Linked DNA regions of Homo sapiens: region 1 is linked to region 2. The links are contacts of gene promoters, found by promoter capture Hi-C in human tissues and cell types (Jung and others, 2019). All regions are on one chromosome and are shown on one strand. Each heading gives the region's core, a stretch centred on a gene start or on the middle of the fragment in contact. The rest is flanking DNA. Distances are from core to core; before and after follow the strand shown. Region 1 has its middle 36 kb from the start of CCDC74A. Region 2 holds the start of IMP4 (IMP U3 small nucleolar ribonucleoprotein 4).

Region 1 (4,626 bases), core at 1,636-4,135, 1.2 Mb before region 2:
AAACTGGATTTTTAAAAATGTGGTTCCTATACATCACAGAATGCTAAAAAGCCACTAAGGAAAATCAAACACAGAAACAAAATCATGCCCTCGGTAGGAACATGGGTGGAACTGGAGGCCACTCTGCTAAGCAACTGAGGCAAGAACAGAAGACCAAACACTGCAGGTTCTCATTTATAAGTGGAAGCGCAACACCCAATACACATCAACATAAAGATGAAATCAAGAGACGCTGGGTACTTCCAGACAGAAAAAAAAGGGAGACAGGGAGCCTTGGAGGAAGAAAGACCCAACTGGTGCTGTGTTCACCGCCTGGGTGACAGGTACGTTAGGACCCCAAGCATCAAAATTCTACTGTATAGCCATGTAGTGAAATGAACCTGCAGGCGTACCCCTCGATCACAATAAAAGTAGCTATCATTTTAGAAAACCCAGCTTTGGAAATAAAAATAGAAAAAAGGAAGAAAACACACAAAACAAAACAAAAAGCCTACAGTGACCCAATCCATCCATTAGTGGCATGAACACAGAAAGACAACCGAATGGACACAACGAAGGAGCCAAATAATCAACCCACAATTATAAACACTGAACCCATGGGATTCTTGTTGTTCCTCCAAAAGCACACCAAAGGCACAATGGTTGAGGAAACTGAGGGGTCACGTGCAAAGGACCGAACCTTTCCTTTACCCAAGACACAAAAAGCGACACAAAATCTACTGAACACCTAAGTTCAATCCTGAAACCAAAATCTCCAAGGAAAACACGTAGGGTGTGTGTCTACTGTGGGTAAACTTGAACCTGTGAACCTAAGCCACAAACAGAAAAGGAAGACATAGGAACCAAATACCCATAGACCATACAATGGCTTCGCCATCTCACTTTTCTTCTCAAAGGGACACAGAAATCACCACTAACAAAAGCTAATGTGACCATGTGAGACTAAGGACAACTTCAGAGCTTCACGCAGCTTCAACACAGGACAGAAAATACTGAACCCAAATAAAAGGCATCTTGCAGACTAGAAGAAAATTATGAAAAACTGTCAATCTGGAAGGGCTTCTTATCTAACATACTCAAGAAACTAATGGTCCTAAGTGGACAAAAATACAAAAACCAAAACACATGCTAAAAATGCCCAAAGGACTGGCATAGCCATTTCTGAAAAAACCTGAAACAGACTCTCAGGTAATAGAAAAGTTTGTCCACATCAGAAGAGTTTCTTCCCAGAGAACGAGTATGACCAGAAACAGCAATAAAACTTTGGAAGATAAGGGCAGTGTAGATTTGCAGACAGAGGAACTATTACACACTACTGGTTTGAATGCAAATTCGTATACCTGCTGGGAGACAGCTGGAGGTTTCTGAAACAATTAACACAACCACCAGTTCCTCTAGCCATCCCAACACTGGGTATACCTGCAAAGCCAACCAAACCTACCTTAAGGAGGTATCTCCCTCTCATGTTTCATGAAGTACTCTGGACAATAACTAAGATGGGGAATCAACCTACTTGTCTTTCTACAGATTAAAAAATGCAGGAATTGAAGGATATATGCACAACGGTATACTCTTCAGCCATCAAACTTCCGGACATCAGTTCACTACCAGCAAGATGGAAAAACCTGGAAGACATTAAGTTAAAAAACATGAACCAGGCAGAGGAAGACAAACACAAATACTGCAAAATCTCATGCACGTGGAATCTAACAAAGTGAATCTCATAGAGTAGCAATGTCAACAGTGGGTACCAGAGGCTGGGGGGAGGATTGGAAATGGCTGCAAAGGGATGTTCAGATGAGACGCAGTTACTCTGGTGTTGTACGGCACAGCAGGGTGACTAGGCTTAACAGTATCATAACATAATATTCAATATTGCTGGAAAGGATTTGGAATGCTCTCTCCATCAAGAAATCCTCACTGTAGCATGAAACAGACGCTAGGTCCTGCAGTTTCATTGATTCATGTAAAAAGGTCCGTTGCACCCTTTAAATAAAAACACAGACCATGTCCTATTTTTGTTTTCCATATAGGATCACAACACAATACTAAAAATCCCGTGGGACAATCAAATGCCCCGCATTCCCAAAGCAGTTCCTACACATACAAAGTCGGTGGAGCCATCACACTCTTCCACTTTACATTACTTCCCAAAGCTTTAGTTACCCAAGCCATTCGTGATAGGCATTAACAGAGAAACAGGCCAATAAACACAATGAGGGTGTCCAGCAGCAAACTCAAATGAAGGTCTCAGTTAATTTAGAAAGTTTATTTTGCCAAGGTTGGGAACACACTCGTGACACAGCCTCAGGGACATGATGACATGAGCCCAAGGTGGTCAGGGCACAGCTTGGTTTTATACATTTTAGGGAGACATGAGACAACAATCAATATATGTAAGAAGTACGTTGCTTTGGTCTAGAAAGATGTGACAACTTGAAGCAAACGCAGGAAGACTGGAAGCAGGGAGGGAGCTTCCAGGTCACAGATGAGTGATACACACATGGTTACATTCTTTTGAGTTTCTGATTAGTCTCCAAAGGAGGCAATCAGATATGCTTCTATCTCAGGGAGCAGAGGGGCGACTTTAAATAGAATGGGAGGCAGGTTGGCCCTAAGCAGTTTCCAGCCTGAGTTTTCCTTAGTGATTTTAGGGGCCCCAGATATTTTCCTTTCACATCTCTCTCCTTTTCTTTTTAAAAAATCTTTTGGAAAAAACATTTTACAAGAAAATGAATCTCTGGTCTCGGGTTTCATCTGATCTCTCATGGCTAGGAGGGTTTATTCCTAGATAGGTAGGTCCTAAATGCTCATTCTTAGCAGGTTGTGAAGTCTCACATCCTGTGAAGTTAAAATAGCGGGGAGGAAGGCAGAAAAAACAACAACAAACAAAAGAACAATCCTGGAAAAATCAATATAAGCCACGTTACTCTGCAGTCCATACCTCAGTAGGCAGGTATGAAAGTGGCTTATGTATGTAAATAGGTTGCTGTTATTTTCTTCTGAAGTTTAAGTGGTCTGGCTTCAGTTTGCAGGGTTTTAAGAAAGCACCGCTTCGTTTAGGAATAATTGAAAAAAAATTGAAAACATTATTTTAAAGACTCGTAGGCAAGAAAAATTAGAATTCGGTCCAAACTGTAGAAAATAATAAAAATTGAAAAAACATTAGGCAAGACTAGAATCTAAAAACAAGTCTACTGTAGTTTTGAAAAATAATTTTTGTCTCTCTCCAGTTTTCAAATTTCTACTAAAGATGAATCATGTTAGAACTGATTTGCTTTATTATACTTGGCCTAATTATCTGCATACAGTGCAACAATCATTATTTTTTACATAGGCTTTTAAATTGGCTTTGATGGAACTTTATTCCATAGCAGGAATCTTAGATAAGACTTTTTCAAAGCCAAGCCCAGCCATGGATTTGTGCCATCAAATACCTATGATTTCAGTGAATTTCCTCTCCTCTTGAGGTTCCAAGATAAACCTGGGGCTTCTGCACCTCTCAGAAAATGACATTCTTTATTTACCACAGGTCAAAATCCTGTACAGGGACTGTGTACACAAAATATGAGGCCAGTTTTTCCAAGGGCTTTATTGGCTTGATAAGTCAGTTTTGATTCCTTAAAGGAAAGCACACCATTTCAGTCAAACCCTTGATAAAATAACCAAATTCTCCAACTGTGTCCTATTCCAAAATAAAACAGATTCTTCTTGCACTTATGCAAGTAACTATACTGCCATAAATTAAGAATACTCATAGTTTCCAAATTCTGGAGAAATTAGGTAGAGAAAAACAAATATGCTCCAAATTTTGTTCACAGGAATATACAATAATTTATTGTTAAAAGCTGTAAATAAAAGTTTCCTTAACTCTGAAAAACTAAAAGTATTAGCAATGTTTTAAGCAAAAAGTCAAAAAGATAACTTCAGTTTTCTATTGGTTCAGTTATCTCAGTTAACTCCTGTTCTGTTTGATAGTCATGAACATTTCAGCTCTCCATGAGAATTTTGAAATTTTTTGCTTTATTCCAGTGTAACAATTTCCAAAATTATCAGAAAACCTGAACTTAAGTGCACCTGTTAGAGTCCTATAGCTGATTATAAACCCACCTTATAAAGAGGGTTTAAAACGAGACAAAACAAGACAATTACCTGTGGATGAAAAAAAATTTAAGGCAGCCATAGTTAAAAGACACAATTGACAAGTGAATTTGTTACCTCCGTGGCACACAATGATTTTAACATAACAATTATGATTATTACAAATAATGTACACTAAGTTATATCAGAATTACAGGAGTTTCCCATCATTTTGGAAACATACCAAAAACATATACAAATGGATCTGAAAGAAAGCCAAACACCATTTCATATTTGACAATGTTTCCAAACATTTTATAGCAGGTAAGCCAAATTATGTCATTTTTAGACTTTAGAGAACCTAATGTCTTAAAGGATTACTTAGGATAGAAAAAGACATAATATATAATTTGATTTTGGGAAGTTTGTCAAATATAAAATGTTTAAAACACTTGATGTTAAAAATAGGATTACAGGTCATTGTAAAGTCATTTATTTAACCAAAGTGATAATTTAAGAATTTTTTAAAAACAGCATGAAGCCAAT
Region 2 (5,208 bases), core at 307-2,806:
ACAGTGGTTACTAGGACTTCATTTTCTTTAGTCTCATGACTTGAGGACTTTCTAAAATATCTTAATGTACTGTATTGCTTTTATAATCAGGTAGAAATCTAAACATCGATTTTTTTTTTTTTTGAGACGGAGTCTCGCTCTGTCACCCAGGCAGAGCAGTGCAGTGGTGCCATCTCGGCTCACTGCAAGCTCCGCTTCCTGGGTTCACGCCATTCTCCTGCCTCAGGCTGGCGAGTAGCTGGGACTACAGGAGCCCGCCACGGCGCCCGGCTAATTTTTTATATTTTTAGTAGAGACGGGGTTTCACCGTGTTAGCCAGGATGGTCTCGATCTCCTGACCTCGTGATCCACCCGCTTCGGCCTCCCAAAGTGCTGGGATTACAGGCGTGAGCCACAGCGCTCGGCCTTAAAAATTACTTTTGAAAAGAAATATAGACTGTTCTGTACGTATGATGGTGGACCAGAGACCTTTAAGCTCTCAGACAGCAAAACCGTTGGTCACGATGCCCACAGCGCTTCGAAGGCATGGCTTCAGCGGGCCCTGGACCACAGGCTGCCTACCGCAGAGCACAGCGCTCCAGGTGCGCACTCGGGGCCAGCACTGTTCCCCACGGAGCTCAGAGGAACTCCTGCAGGGAGGATGGGCAGCGCAGTCTGCAGCACCAGCGCTATCCAGATAGTCTTTAGAGAGAATTTCTTTTTTTTTTTTTTTTTGAGACGGAGTCTTGCTTTTTTGCCCAGGCTGGAGTGCAGTGGCAGGATCTCGGCTCACTGCAACCTCCGCCTCCCGGGTTCAAGCGATTCTCCTGCCTCAGCCTCCTGAGTAGCTGGGATTACAGGCGCGTGCCACCACGGCCGGCTAATTTTTGTATGTTTAGTAGAGACGAGATTTCACCATGTTGGTCAGGCTCGAACTCCTGACCTCATGATCCGCCCGCCTCGGCCTCCCAAAGTGCTGGGATTACAGCAGTGAGCCACCGCTCTAAAGAGAATTTCTACAGGACAAGATAAAGTCTTTAAAACTTGGGACGAACTTGACACACTGCACACAGCGGGCAAGCTGCAAAACCCGGGTACTGCAACGTCAGTGACAAGTAATTAATACCATCACACGGAAGAAACACTCTCAAAACCAACAGGAGAACCCAATGGGCAAGGAAAACGGCCGGCAAGCATTTGGAAAGACGCTCGGATATTCGAACACAAATGCGTGCCGGGGTGGTTTACCACGCAGACGCCCGCGGGGCCGATGCCTTACCTTCCAGCGCGCGCCGCAGCCGCTCCTTCCTCTCCTGGGCTGAGCGCTGCGCCTCCTCCCGGGCCTTGCGGTACAGGTACTCGCGGCGCAGGCGGGCCTCGCGGCGCAGCTGTGGGAACAGCAGGCCCAGTCACTCACTACTCGCTCCCGAGCCCCGGAACCCCGGAGCCCCGGAGCCGCTGAGCCTCCAAGTCCCCAGAGCCACATCCCCAGCACTTCACGCGCCCCGGACCTCCGAAACAGGAGCTCATTCTCCTACCATCTTGAGTGCCGCTTCCACGTGGGTCCGGGAGAATCTGTGGGCTCCTCCAGCGCGACACAGTCCTCACTTCCGCCCTCAACCAAGATGGTCCCTTAGACGCTTCACTGGTGCCTGCAGCTGTGGGGAATGCCCTATGTTAAGATGGCGAATAGGGCGGGGACATCTCAAGGCGATTGGCCATTCCGGCAGGGCGTTCTCCTTGGGATAACCGATAGACTGGATACAGAATGTCACACGTGACTTAGGACCGCAGCTAATAAATATGTCCGCCCAGGCTTCTCCATCCTCGTCCTCCCCCCACCACCGCCGTGCAGAATGCAGTTTTCAGATGACGAACCGCTAAAACAATCATAATTAGCGGCTGGAAACAGTTCAACTGTAAAAACCGCACACCGACTGAAGGTTGCTTGCCGGCTCCTTTCCAAATTAACTTTAAAACCACTCTTCCCTCAACCAAAATGGTTTCTGTAGAGCTTCGCCTTCTTCCATCGCCACAACAGTGGCGCGACTTCTAAGATTCGGCAGCTTCCGGAAGGACTCAGAACCACCTATAACCCTAGCCGACAGTTCAGCAGGCTGATCCACTTGGGGGCTAATTGGAGAAACCAGTTGATTGGTTGCTTCCGTGCTGCTTCTCTAAGGGCGCTTGCCCTTAAAGAAGCTGACCCAGAGGCCTTGGTGCTGCCGGCGTGGGGATCCCCAGATGGGAACGCCCCTTGATGGAGGATCTCGTGTGCCTATTGGCTGTCCTGCCAAACTGCGGAGGGTGACAAGGAAGAAGGTGGCTCCAGATCTGGAGGTGTGTCCATGGCGGCGCTTGACCTGCGAGCGGAGCTGGATTCGCTGGTCCTGCAGCTGCTTGGGGACCTGGAGGAGCTGGAGGGGAAACGAACGGTGTTGAACGCCCGGGTGGAGGAGGTAGGCGCCTGGGGCGGGCAGGAGGGTACACGGGCGTAAACTGAGTCTCACCGCTTTCCTCTCCCTGCAGGGCTGGCTCTCGCTCGCCAAGGCTCGCTACGCGATGGGCGCCAAGTCGGTAGGGCCCCTGCAGTATGCTTCCCACATGGAGCCCCAGGTCTGCCTCCACGCCAGGTGAGGAAGCTTCCATGCTGGGCTGGGTGGGCGGGCGGGCGCGTTCTAGGCCCGGGCTGCCAAAGCTCCATCCTCCCTTCTCGTCCTTCAGCGAGGCCCAGGAGGGACTCCAGAAGTTCAAGGTGGTGAGAGCTGGTGTCCACGCCCCAGAGGAGGTGGGGCCTCGCGAAGCAGGTGAGCCCCCTCTTCCTTCTGCAGAACCCCTTCCCAGTGTCAAAGACAAAATGCAAATTATGGAGATGATTTAAATTAGGTTTTTGCGATAAGAGAGAGCATCCCAGAGCAGAAGAACAGAATGTTTTTGTAGGGTGGTTTTGCCTTAGACTTTTATAGGAAGTAGAGAAATTGTTGGTGAGTTGCTTTACACTGGGAATAGATTTACAATCACATACATTTCAGTCAGCTGAACAGAAAATATTTATCTGTGTGTCTAGCTAGTTTCAGAGGGACAAACTTCTAATCCCAGTTAATCATCCTGAGACAAAGAATGGGGAGTTGGAACGTCTATGTCTGGTCTGTTGGCATGTTCAGGTACAATGGGTAAGATCAGTGTCACAGGCAAACAGGGTCATCAGTGGGTCTTACAGGAGTCACGGGAAAGAGTGGACAAACAGTCTCATCTGAATCACAAGGGGAAAGGCTGTGTTTTGTGGTAAGCTGTTTCCTGGAACCCCAAAGTTGGAATTTTCCAACCAACAGTGTTTTATAGAATCATGAGCTCAGATCAAGCTCAACATTGTCACCAAGATGATAAAGGTCAGGGAGTAAGATCCCAGCCTCCTCCAACCTTTCTTTCCTCAGGTCTGCGGAGGCGCAAGGGCCCCACTAAGACCCCAGAACCGGAGTCCTCTGAGGCCCCTCAGGACCCCCTGAACTGGTTTGGAATCCTAGTTCCTCACAGTCTACGTCAGGCTCAAGCAAGCTTCCGGGATGGTGAGTGGACCGTGTTGTTTGGCTCTGTGGCCCTCAGACCCTCTATCCACAGGGAACACTTGAGCACTGCTGCCATGGCTGGGGTTAGTCTGTGAAAGGCTTTGCAGGTTTTCCTCCATCCAAACTTCCGTTGTACACCCATTATTTTTTCCAAAAGCATTTACTGGTTGTTGGCAGCATTCGGGTTCATGCTAGCTGCTGGGGATACAGCAGGGAACAAAAGAGACAAACACTTTTCATGTAATGTTTAGAAGCAGACAAAGGCAACGTGCAAATAAGTAGGCCCTTAACATAAGTCAGGCTGTGAAAATTGTTATGAAAAACACATAATGGAGTGGGACAGGAGTGGGCCAGGGGAGGTCTCTCTGAGGAGGTGAAGGAAAAGCTTTGTGGGTGATTTTGGGGAACAGTGCTCTAGATGGAGGAACCAGCCAGGACAAAAGCCCTGAAGCCAGATATATCTGGTATGTGCCGAGGCCGGTGGCCTAGAGTGGAGTCAGGTGATGTAAGCCCTGATGAAGACTGTGGGACCCACAGAGAGGCTCTGAGCAGAGGATGGTGCAACTGGCTGTACAGGGTCACAGGAATGCTTGGGTGCTGGGCGGGGACACAGAGCAGAGGGAGGAAGTAGGTGTCAGGGAGCAGCCAGTGTGAGAAGCAGATAGCGTCACTGGAGGAGGAGGTAAGTGGTGGGAACCTGCACAGGTTTTAAGAATAGAAGCCCCAGAATTTGCTGACAGATAAGATATGGGAGTAAGGGAAGGAAAGGAGTCCAGGAGAGCCTGCGGTCTCCACCCAGAACCCCTGGGAGGATGGAGCGACCCTCACCTGCTGTGGGCAGCTGAGAGGATTCCAGAAGGCAGGAGTTGGTGTGGTCTGTGTGGTATCCACCGACGCCCTGCTGGAGAGTCTGAGTGGGCACTTGGGCACATGTATCTGGAGTTTGGGAGAGGCCTGGGCTGGAGAGAGATTTGGGAGTCCACTGCATAGCACTGGTGTTTAAATTCCAAAGTTTTTGACACAAACACTGGTTTAAAGCTGAGATAGGATGAGATCAGCAGAGGGCCTGGGGAGTATGGACGGGAGGTGAGGGAGAAGAGGGGAGAAGCCAGTCAAGGAAACTGAGGAGCAACACCTGGGGGCAGGTGTCCTGGAGGCCAAGAAGAGAAAGTGTTTCCTGGAGCGAGTGATCCAATGTGTGGTCAGCCCTGCTGCTGAACAGGAGGCCGAAGACGAGAGCTGCCCGGAGGACTGGGCAGCAGCTGTTCCAGCAGAGACATCAGCAAAAGCCATCTAGAGGTGGATCCAGAGTGTGGACTAACAGAGAAAAGAAGTGGAGGGAGAGCAGGTGAGGGCAGAGAGATGCTGTAATAATGGGGGAAGGAAGGAAATGAGGGCATGAAATGGTATTACTATCTGTGAATTTTTAGTTCCTGGTGGGTGATATAATGGGTCCAGGAAGTCTAAGGAGGTGACATTTTAGCAAAGACCTGAAGGAGGTGTAAGGCCTCAGAGGTTCTGGAGCAGCCAATGCAGGGCCGTACCTGGAATGTTTTGGGACAAGTGTGGGGGGCAGAGAGGCCTGAAGCCTTTCCAATTTCTGGGGATATCCAGATCCTCCTGGGTCGTGTGTTACACTACAGATACCATGGTGACCTTCTCT

The links. The method cuts DNA at HindIII sites, captures the fragments that hold promoters and counts their contacts. A contact is called where the count stands out against the background at its distance.
Region 1: a contact is called between a fragment that was not itself captured here and the fragment with the promoter of IMP4 in region 2, in 1 of the 25 tissues and cell types used here (lymphoblastoid cells).

Annotation. Positions count from the first base shown.
Region 1 is chr2:131,561,860-131,566,485 of GRCh38, reverse strand. No RefSeq gene overlaps it. Among named protein-coding and RNA genes, the nearest start is that of CCDC74A, 36 kb to the right of the region's middle. RefSeq lists a silencer at 1,261-1,440. The HindIII fragment of the contact is 8,227 bases long and covers 1-4,626 here.
Region 2 is chr2:130,339,245-130,344,452 of GRCh38, reverse strand. IMP4 (IMP U3 small nucleolar ribonucleoprotein 4) reads right to left here and starts at 1,556. Exons shown (of 9, transcript NM_033416.3): 1 at 1,518-1,556; 2 at 1,259-1,367. The coding sequence starts at 1,520. VMA22 (vacuolar ATPase assembly factor VMA22) reads left to right here and starts at 2,289. Exons shown (of 5, transcript NM_032357.4): 1 at 2,289-2,438; 2 at 2,509-2,612; 3 at 2,704-2,786; 4 at 3,414-3,545. The coding sequence starts at 2,328. RefSeq lists enhancers at 1,524-1,693, 1,824-2,373. The HindIII fragment of the contact is 9,368 bases long and covers 1-3,078 here.